2 separate regions of the Homo sapiens genome follow, and region 2 is linked to region 1. Evidence: promoter capture Hi-C in 16 types of primary human blood cells and fetal thymus (Javierre and others, 2016). All regions are on one chromosome and are shown on one strand. Each heading gives the region's core, a stretch centred on a gene start or on the middle of the fragment in contact. The rest is flanking DNA. Distances are from core to core; before and after follow the strand shown. Region 1 holds the start of MRAP-AS1 (MRAP antisense RNA 1). Region 2 overlaps CFAP298-TCP10L (CFAP298-TCP10L readthrough).

The links. Contacts are between HindIII fragments. The CHiCAGO score rates a contact against its expected background, and 5 or more counts as called.
Region 2: a contact is called between a fragment that was not itself captured here and the fragment with the promoter of MRAP-AS1 in region 1, in 1 of 17 cell types (endothelial precursors). The highest score is 5.0, in endothelial precursors.

The regions. Positions count from the first base shown.
Region 1 is chr21:32,307,227-32,313,265 of GRCh38, forward strand. It overlaps MRAP-AS1 (MRAP antisense RNA 1), which reads right to left and starts at 1,509. Exons shown (of 2, transcript NR_187556.1): 1 at 1,293-1,509. MRAP (melanocortin 2 receptor accessory protein) reads left to right here. Exons shown (of 3, transcript NM_001379228.1): 3 at 4,458-5,064. The coding sequence ends at 4,770. URB1 (URB1 ribosome biogenesis factor) reads right to left here. Exons shown (of 39, transcript NM_014825.3): 39 at 3,792-6,039. The HindIII fragment of the contact is 11,077 bases long and covers 1-6,039 here.
Region 2 is chr21:32,607,544-32,611,318 of GRCh38, forward strand. It overlaps CFAP298-TCP10L (CFAP298-TCP10L readthrough), which reads right to left. Exons shown (of 12, transcript NR_146639.2): 2 at 2,295-2,462; 3 at 106-173. CFAP298 (cilia and flagella associated protein 298) reads right to left here. Exons shown (of 7, transcript NM_021254.4): 2 at 2,295-2,462; 3 at 106-173. Among named protein-coding and RNA genes, the nearest start is that of CFAP298, 2.9 kb to the right of the region's middle. The HindIII fragment of the contact is 1,162 bases long and covers 670-1,831 here.

The DNA.
Region 1 (6,039 bases), core at 259-2,758:
GAGCGGGGAAGGGGGAATGACTACTGATGGGTTTCTTTTGGGGATGATAAAAATGTTCTAAAATTAAGCTGGGCGTGGTGGCTCACGCCTGTAATCCCAGCACTTTGGGAGGCTGAGATGGGTGGATCACTTGAGGTCAGGAGTTCAAGTTACCAGCCTAGCCAACTTGGTGAAACCCTGTCTCTACTAAAAATACAAAAATTAGCCGGGCGTGGTGGCACGCACTTGTAATCCCAGCTACTCAGGAGGCTGAGGCAGGAGAATTGCTGGAACCCAGGTGGCGGAGGTTGCAGTGAGCCGAGACTGTGCCACTACACTCCAGTCTGGGCAACAGAGTGAGACTCCGTCTCAAAAAAAAAAAAAAAAAAGAAGTTCTAAAATTAAGCCAGGCCCAGTAGCTCACACCTGCTGTAATCCCAGCACCTTGGGAAGCCAAGGCAGGAGGATCGCTTGAGCCCAGGGGTTCGAGACCCTATCTCCATAAAAAATAACAAAAAGTTAGCTGGGCATGGTAGTGCGCACCTGTAGTCCCGGCTACTCAGGAGGCTGAGGCAGGAGGATCACTAGAGCCCAGCAGGTCAAGGCTGCAGTGAGCTGTGATTGCGCCACTGCACTCTAGCCTGGGTGATAGAACAAGACCCTGTCTCAACAAACAAACAAAAAGTTCTAAAATTAGATTATGGTGATGGTTGCACAACTCTATGGATGTACTGAAGACCACTGAAATTGTACTCTTTAAATGAGTCAACCTCATGGAATGAAAATATATCTCACTAAAGCTGTTAAAGAAAATGAAGCCAACTTGACACCATGGGCATTAAGTCTTGCCGGCCAGCTCACCAGGAACATAAGAACCTTACCTTTGGCCAGGTGTGGGGGCTCACACCTGTAATCCCCGCACTTTGGGAGGCCAAGGTGGGCGGATCACCTGAGATCAGGCCTTTGAGACCAGACTGGCCAACATGGTGAAACCCCATCTCTACTGAAAATATTTTTAAAAAATCAGCCAGGTGTGGTGGTGTATGCCTGTAATCCCAGCTACTCGTGAGGCCAAGCAGGAGAATCGCTTGAACGCAGGAGGCAGAGGTTGCAGTGAACCGAGATTGCACCACTGCACTCCAGCCTGGGCAAGAAGAGAGAAACTCTGTCTCCAAAAAGAAAAAAAAAAGAAAAAAGAAAAAGAAAGATCCTTACCTTAGGCACCTATGGCCAGCATCTGTTCTCAGATGCCTGCTGTGTGCCACTAAATTGGAGGTGAAATCCAGGAGTTTTAAGGAGTAATTGGAACCCACCTTGTTTTATGTTAATTCTGTTGTGCTAGAGGATTGGCTGACACATCCAATGTTCCCTTCTAGGCTAATCAGCCCTCACAGCTGCTGCTCTCCTAATGACTGTTCTTAGGAGGGACCCTATATTTTGCCATCGCTCACCCGAAGAGGGCCTGTCCAGTGGCTGGCCCATGCCCTTGGAAACGTGTGCCCTGGCAAAAGAGCTGGGACTGGTCAGATTCTCATCTTTGGAATTTGGAATCTAGAACCTGAGGGATGGACCTGGTGGCTATGGGGGCTGCACTGATTGGTCCAGGAGGAGGACTAGGGCTGGGTGCCATTATAGACCATTATGTCCATTACGGACGGAAGTCTTGGGGACTGGAAACCCTAAGCGTAGGAAGCTGGTCAGCAGAGAGATGAGCCAAACTGTGCTGAGGAAGAGCTGAGTGGCCTTGGAGCCCCTGAGCCAGTGCGTCCCATGCCAGGTCCCGTGAAGAGCCGTGGACTCGCGCATTGGCACAGCGTCTTAGTGTTTTCTGTTGCTGTAACAGAATACCTGAGGCTGAGTAATTTATGAAGAAAAGAGGCTTATTTAGCTCATGGTTCTGAAGGCTTAGAAGTCTAGGAAGCATGGCACCGACATCTGCTTAGCTTCTGGTGAGGGCCTCATTTTGTAAAAAGATCTAATTCAGTCTAGAGAAAAAAAAAACTCATTACCTCTTAAAGGTCCCAGCTCCCAGTGTTGCCACACTGGGGACCAGGTCTCCACGAGTTTTGGTGGGGACAAACCATACCACAGCCCAACATTACCTTGAAGGGGCCTCTGATTCTCCTCCCCGCCCCTGCCTGCCCTGCCCGTGGTGTCTCACCCACCAGGGCTACACTCGCCAGGCCATTTCCGCTCACCTTTGGTCACATATGGAAGGTAGCTTTAGAGCAATGAAGAAATTCATTTTTTTTTTTTTGTTTTTGAGACAAGAATCTCGCTGTGTCACCCAGGCTGGAGTGCAGTGGCGTGATCTCGGCTCACTGCAACCTCCACCTCCCAAGTTCAAGCTATTCTCTTGCCTCAGCCTCCCGAGTAGCTGGGATTACAGGCACCCGCCACGACGCACAGCTAATTTTTGTATTTTTAGTAGAGACAGGGTTTTGCCAAGTTGGCCAGGCCAGTCTCAAACTCCAGACCTGTAATCCTAGCACTTTGAGAGGCCGAGGTGGGTGGATCACCTGGGGTCAGGAGTTCGAGACTGGCCTGGCCAGCTTGGCGAAACCCTGTCTCTATTAAAAATACAAAAATTAGCTGGGCATCGTGGCCGGTGCCTGTAATCCCAGCTACTCGGGAGGCTGAGGCAAGAGAATCGCTTGAACCTGGGAGGCAGAGGTTGCAGTTAGCCGAGATGGCATCACTGAGGTCAGGAGCCACTGTGCACAGCCTGAAATCTGTTCTTTTCTTTCAGTTTTTAGAACTCACATTCAATTTAAGCACATTTTTATACCCAAGACACATCTGAGGGATAAACGAGTGATGTCACCTTTCTTTACTACTCTTCTGAGATGACCTGCAGCCGCCCTATGCCAGGGAAGGTGCAAAGATCCCTGGTCTGGTCCGGCAAGCCCAGGGGCTGCCTCCACCACGCCCAGCTCCCTGGGGGGCACAGGCCTTCTGGGCTATTTCACAGGGGCAAACTGATGACACTATACATCCTGACCAGCTACATGGCTTACTAAAGAAAATGCTCTCAAGGCACTTGGTAACATTCCTGGAATGCTCAGGGCGGCAAAGTGGATCCTCAGCAAGATTTAGGAGTCATTCCCTGAGGAGCTGACACCTTCCCATGATGGGGGGGGGAGGGGAGGAGGGAGGTGGGGAGAGCATTCTTAGGCGAGTGCCATCTGAAAGCATGGCCTCTGCCCAGTGGGTTCATCACTTGGTACTCTTCATTTGTGCCAGCGCTGTAACCACATTTAAGTCGTTTTATACATCATCTCATTTCATCCTGAGGATATCTGTGAGCCAATATTGTCCCATTTTATGGATGACGTTAAAGGCAGCTGGGAAGTGGTGGCCAGAGCTCACTCCAGATGGCCATGTCCACTGCCCCAGCACTTCCCGGGCAGGAGAATCCACCCAGGGAGGACACATTTCTTTTTTTTTTCTTTTTTTTTTTGAGACTGAGTCTTGCTCTGTTGCCAGGCTGGGGTGCAGTGGCGCAATCTTGGCTCGCTGCAACTTCCGACTCCTTGGTTCAAGTGATTCTCCTGCCTCAGCCTCCTGAGTAGCTGGGATTACAGGCGCCCACCACCACACCCAGCTAATTTTTGTATTTTCAGTAGAGACGGGGTTTCCCTATGTTGGCCAGGATTGTCTCGATCTCCTGACCTCATGATCCACCTGCCTCTGCCTCCCAAAGTGCTAGGATTACAGGTGTGAACCTCCATGCTTGGCACAGGGAGGATGCATCTCTAGCCAAGTGTTTTAGTTTGTTCTCGGCTGCTAAGAAAGACATATCCGAGGCTGGATAATTTATAAAGGAAAGAGGTTTAATGGACTCACAGTTTCACATGGCGGGGGAGGCTTCACAGTCATGGCAGAAGGCAAAGGAAGAGCAAAGCCACATCTTACATGACACAGGCAAAAGGGCATGTGCAGGGAAACTCCCCTTTATAAAACCATCAGATCTCATGAGACTTACTATCACGAGAACAGCATGGGAAGACCCGCCCCCATGATTCAATTACCTCCCACTGGGTCCTTCCCACGACACGTGGGGATTATTACAATTCAAGGTGAGATTTGTGTCGTGACGCAGCCAAACCATATCACCAAGATACAAGTTGGCTTGGGCTATGGATATAAAATGAACTACACTCAGATACAGCGCTGGATGGGAGGTCAACCTGCTCCCCTCCACCCCCCACCCCCCCCATCCTAAATCAATGTAGGAAGAAGTGGCCTCCAGGGAAAGACCTGAGGCCTAGTTCCTGACAAAGCACTTCCTCTCCTCTGAGATTTCTCTAGAATGGCCACCTTTGTGAGCTGGCTGACCCTTCTCAGGAATTTGCCTGTGTGGCCTTCCCTATGGGGTCCGGGCAGATGGCAGGTGTGGCAGGAAACCCCCCAGCCCCACAGTATGGACTGTTCTGCAGCAACTATGATGCCTGCCTCCCACTCTGCTCTGTTCACAGGAACAGCCCCAAGCACCACCAAACATGCCCCTGGAGTCACGGCCTCAACCTCCACCTCTGCATCCAGAAGTGCCTGCCGTGCCACAGGGAACCCCTGGCAACCTCACAGGCTCAGGCGAGCTCAGTGGAGCCAGGGAGCAGAACTGGCCCTGACCAGCCGCTACGACAGGAGAGCTCCTCCACCTTGCCCCTCGGGGGTTTCCAGACCCACCCCACTCTCCTCTGGGAACTGACCCTCAATGGGGGTCCCCTCGTCAGGAGCAAGCCCAGCGAGCCTCCCCCTGGAGACAGGACCTCTCAATTGCAGAGCTGATGTCAGTAAATCGTGGCCATAGCTGAGTGAACTGGTGAAATCAAGCCAACCTGGACACATACGTTCCTCGTTCTTCTTAGAGGCCATTTGCATGTAGCAGAAAGGGCACCTAGGTCAAGTGCAACTAGAGCAGGAGCATCCTATGCCTTTGACAAAGATTGCAGTGGCCCCTCGAGTGCAGAGGTCATCCCAGGTGTTGCTGAGTTTATTGAGCACACCTAGCCTGCTTGCTTACTGCTTATATTTGCTCAGGGAAGAGTAGGAAAATAAAATATATGCAAATCAAGAGGAAAAGCTGTTTGCTTACTAATCTTTACTATGCCACTTTACCATTACTGTGTAATGCGTTATCAGCCCTGAGTTCACCTGGTCCTTCTGTACCTTTGTTAGGATGCTGGGTAAGTTCCCATCCAAGCTCCACTAACACCCGCCGGCTCCCCCAGATGTGATGGCATCTGCCCTGCCAGGTCAGCTCACTGCAGTCTGGGGACCTGAGTTGCACCTTCAACCTCCCCACAGCCTTTCAAAGACAGAGCCCAAGAAAGTGTCTCCCCTGGAGGGCAGGCAGCCAACGCCTGTCAGCAGCCAGGCCGGGTAAGCAGGATCTATGCCCAAATGCTGTCACAGAACACAAAGAGCCCTGGAAGCTGGCAGGAAAGGTCTTCTGGATGTGACTTTATGTGACAGTGGATCTGGGACCCTTGAAAGATCTAGTCCTCTAGTGCCCAGCAGCCTTGTCCCTGGAGAGGAGACAGCATCACACAGCAAATCTCAGAAGACCCATATGTCCCCTACAGCTTTCAGGCAAGGAGGGAGTTGATAGGTTTTATTTTTAAAATAACTGTGCCCCCCGCCCCACTTAAGATATTTCTAATTTAGCATTTTATATTTTAAGTCAGGTGAAGACCATGTTCGATCTATTCTCCATGGGATGAGATTCCCTTCCTCCACACTAAGTGACTGGAAAATACACGAACAAGGTCAGGGCAGTGGATTTAAAAGGGAGAACAAAGAAAAGCAAGACTGATGAGCTCCAGAGATGCAGAAAAGAAGGTGAGGTGCTGAAAATGTGTCCTCACTTGACTGAGCTGGAACTCGGCTTTGGAGCATTTGTCGCCACCTGACGTAGTATGTATTGACTTGCTGGGCCCTAAGAACCTGGGAGGCAGCTTAGGCCTGGAGCCAGGGATGAAGCCGTGGAAATCCACCCCACCTGCTCGCTGCCCCTCCCTGTGCCCCCAGAGGCATGGGGTTCAGGGATATTCCCCA
Region 2 (3,775 bases), core at 1-2,500, 300 kb after region 1:
GATCGCACCATTGCACTCCAGCCTGGGCAACAAAAGCAAAATTCCATCTCCAAAAAAAAAAAAAAAAACCCAACAAGTTTTAGTGCATCATTTAAAAAAGCCAACCTTAGATATTATTGCTTTGGCTTCTTCTATAGTCTTCTTTAACACTTGCTTCATCTTCTCATTTGGAGCTATAAAAATAAAAAGGAGAGAGGGAGAAAGAGCTGTCAAATACAAAGCCTCTTCTGAAATACCTCAATCCCCTCTGTCTGAGTCAGGGGGTAAATGAACTGAGAGAGAGTGCGAGTGTGGAATTTAGGGAAGAGAAGCAAGAAACCTGGCTGCCGGAAGTTAGGTGAAGACCTCTTCCCAACAGCAGAGACCTGGAGTGTGCTTTACGCAAAGTGGCAAAGGCTACAAAAAACAGAAATGCATGTCGTTGGGTAAACAGGGCCGGTGAACTTTTTCTGGAAAGGGCCAGAGAGTAAAATTTGAGGCTTTGCAGGCCACACAGTCTTGTTGGGTGGGATAACTCAGCTCTGCCACGTAGCACAAGAGCAGACAATACTTAAATAACTGGGGTAGCTGCGTCTCCTTACAATTTTATTTACAATAGGCAGCTGGCTAAATTTGACCTGTAGCCCATAATTTGGTGACCCCTAGATCAGGAAAAAATAATAACTTGAAAGCTTAGAAGCCAAAAAAAAAAAAAAAAAAAAGAAGAAGATGGAATGCCCAAACCTAGGGAAAATGGGGCAAGTTGAAACCATACATTCCTAGTAAATAACAGTATTAATTAGACATTGAAAATATTAGAAACACAAGATTGTATTATAATAGAAGTGGTTAGGCTGGGCGTAGTGGCTCACGCCTGTAATCCCAGCACTTCGGAAGGCCAAGATGGGTGGATCACCTGAGGTCAGGAGTTCGAGACCAGCCTGGGCAACATGCTGAAACCCTGTCTCTATGAAAAATACAAAAATTAGCCGGGCATGGTAGCAGGCATGTGTAATCCCAGCTACTCTGGAGGCTGAGGCAGGAGAATCACTGGAATCCGGGAGGCAGAGGTTGCAGTGAGCCGAGATTGTGCCACTGCACTCCAACCTGGGTGACAGAGTAAGACTCTGTCTCAAAAAAAAAAAAAAAAAAAAAAAAGGTGGTTAATTTAAGAACATATTACATATTGGTTTAATGATGAATAATGAACTGTTAACTGGTTCTCATATTTTTTTTCCTCATCTTACCACATCTTCTTACGTAAGAAAGCTGTGGAAGACAACCATTTTTCAGGTTAACATTGAAAGGAAAAAATACTAGGAATTCTTACTATCCCTGATATTTAAAAAAATGTATTTTTGAGCTGCTAAAGGCCTTGCAGGAATACTGTTCTTTTACTCCTAACAGTGTTTTAGGGCTGTTCAATTACAGTGTTTTAAATGGCGCTTTTAATGCAGGTTAAAAAGAATAAGCTATCAAAAAGGATTATCATCAATTCCACATGATCAGCCAAACACTGAAAGGAGAGGAATTTCCTCAGTGTTTTGCCGTGTACTGAAGTGCTCTGCCCCAGAGAGAAGCATGTCCTTGATCAGGGAAGTCCATGTGCTGACATGCTTTCCCTTTCCTCTTTCACACAGTCCATCTCGAAAGATCCCCCAACATTTGCGAACAGTAACAAAACACAACTCTGAATACATTGCGGTGAGGACCTGCCAACAATTATTAGGTGGAAACACATGAAATTGCCAATACTCAACCATTTTTGAGCTACAGAAGGGAAAGGGTCATTTCATCTGGTTCGTCGAATACATATAAAAGCAAGCTGCAACTTATTAAAGAGCAAGACAAAAGCTTCCTTTATCTACCTAATTCATCCTAGATTAGAGTTTTACCAAAGGAGCTACAGAGTACAGTATTTTGTAAGTCTGTAGAGAAATGACGAGGTCAATTTTTAAACGTAAAGAACTGCTTTCTCACACCTGTAATCCCAGCACTTTGGGAGGCCGAGACCGGCAGATCATCTGAGGTCACGAGTTCGAGACCAGCCTGGCCAACATGGCAAAACCCCGTCTCTACTAAAAATACAAAAATTAGTCAGGTGTGGTGGCACATGCCTGTAGTCCCAGCTACTCAAGAGGCGGAGGCAGGAGAATCGCTTGAACCTGGAAGACAGAGGTGGCAGTGAGCTGAGATTGTGCCACTGCACTCCAGCCTGGGCTAGAGCAAGAATCCGTCTCAAAAAAAAAAAAAGGAACTGTTTTCATACTTATGCCTGTATCAAGCATGCACATAGAAGAGAAATCCTCACTTACCTTGCCCATTCCTTCGTCCAATATCATCCTTTTTAAACACTGCACCTCCGCTGGGTACGCATTTTTCACCCCATTCATCCTTCAATTTCAATTCTTCAATCTGATCATCGGTCAGTCCTTGCATATTAGGAGGGAGAAATATGCCATGTTCGGCTAATTCTTCCATTTCTTAAAAATAAGTGAAAGACAGTATCACAATCATAACACCTCATACCCCATTGGAATGTAAGCTCCAAAGAGTCAGGGGTCTTGCCCATCTGGCTCACTATTTTATGGAACAAACATTTATATGCCACTTGCTATGTGCCAGACCTGGCCTGGGCCTTTGACACGGGGGCATGGTACTGGTCTTATTCATCCTTGTCTTTTTTTTCTTTGAGACAGGGTCTCCCTCTGTCACCCAGGCAGGAGTGCAGTGGCGCGATCTCAGCTCACTGCAGCGATCTCAGCTCACTGCAGCATTGCCTCCCGGGTTCAAGCGATTCTCACGCCTCAGCCTCCCGAGTAGCTGGGACAACAGGCATGTGTCACCACGTTTTGTATTTTTAGTAGAGACTGGGTTTCACCATGTTGCCCAGGCTAGTCTAGAACTCCTAGGCTCAAGTGATCCGCCCGCCTCAGCCTCTCAAAGTGTCAGGATTACCCGTGTGAGCCACCACGCCCGGCCCCATCCTTGTCTTCTGAAGGCTGAGCACTGGTGCAGAATAAATACATGAATTTTCAGTTCACTAATGTGACTCTTAGCATTCAGCACATTTCCAATTTATAACGTTATAGGAAAAGAAGATGAATTCCTTTTCTCCTCAAATGCTTTAACTTAAAAATAACATTTAATATTGAGTTTGTGTTGGAACCTCAATTAAGAAACTACACATAAGTTTCATGAAAAGAACCATGACCCTCAGGAATTTCTCCACGGTGCAAAACTCACATATTCATATAATGTAATCAATACATTTCATAATAAATCACATATTCATGCAATTTAATAAATCACATAAATGAATATACTATTTATTGCAAATAGTTACGTTTGTATATTCTATATATACACGATAGTTATATAAACAGTAATATCCTAGACCACATCAGGAAGTATCATCCCGTCAAGTTCAAAAACTATGCTGTCTAATGCGGCAGCTACTCGCTCCACTTGGCGATTTAAATTTATTTAAATTAAAATGACCCAGACGCGATGGATCACACTTGTAATCCTAGCACTTTGGGAGGCGGAGGCAGGCGGATCACCTGAGGTCAGGCGTTCGAGACCAGCCTGGCCAACATGATGAAACCCCGTGTCCACTAAAGATACAAATATTAGCTGGGCGTGGTGGTGGGCGCCTGTAATCTCAGATACTTGGGAGGCTGAGGCAGGAGAATAGCTTGAACCCGGGAGGCGAAGGTTGCAGTGAGCAGAGATCGCGCCACTGCACTCCAGCCTGGGCAACAGTAAGACCCTGTCTCTCACACACACACATACC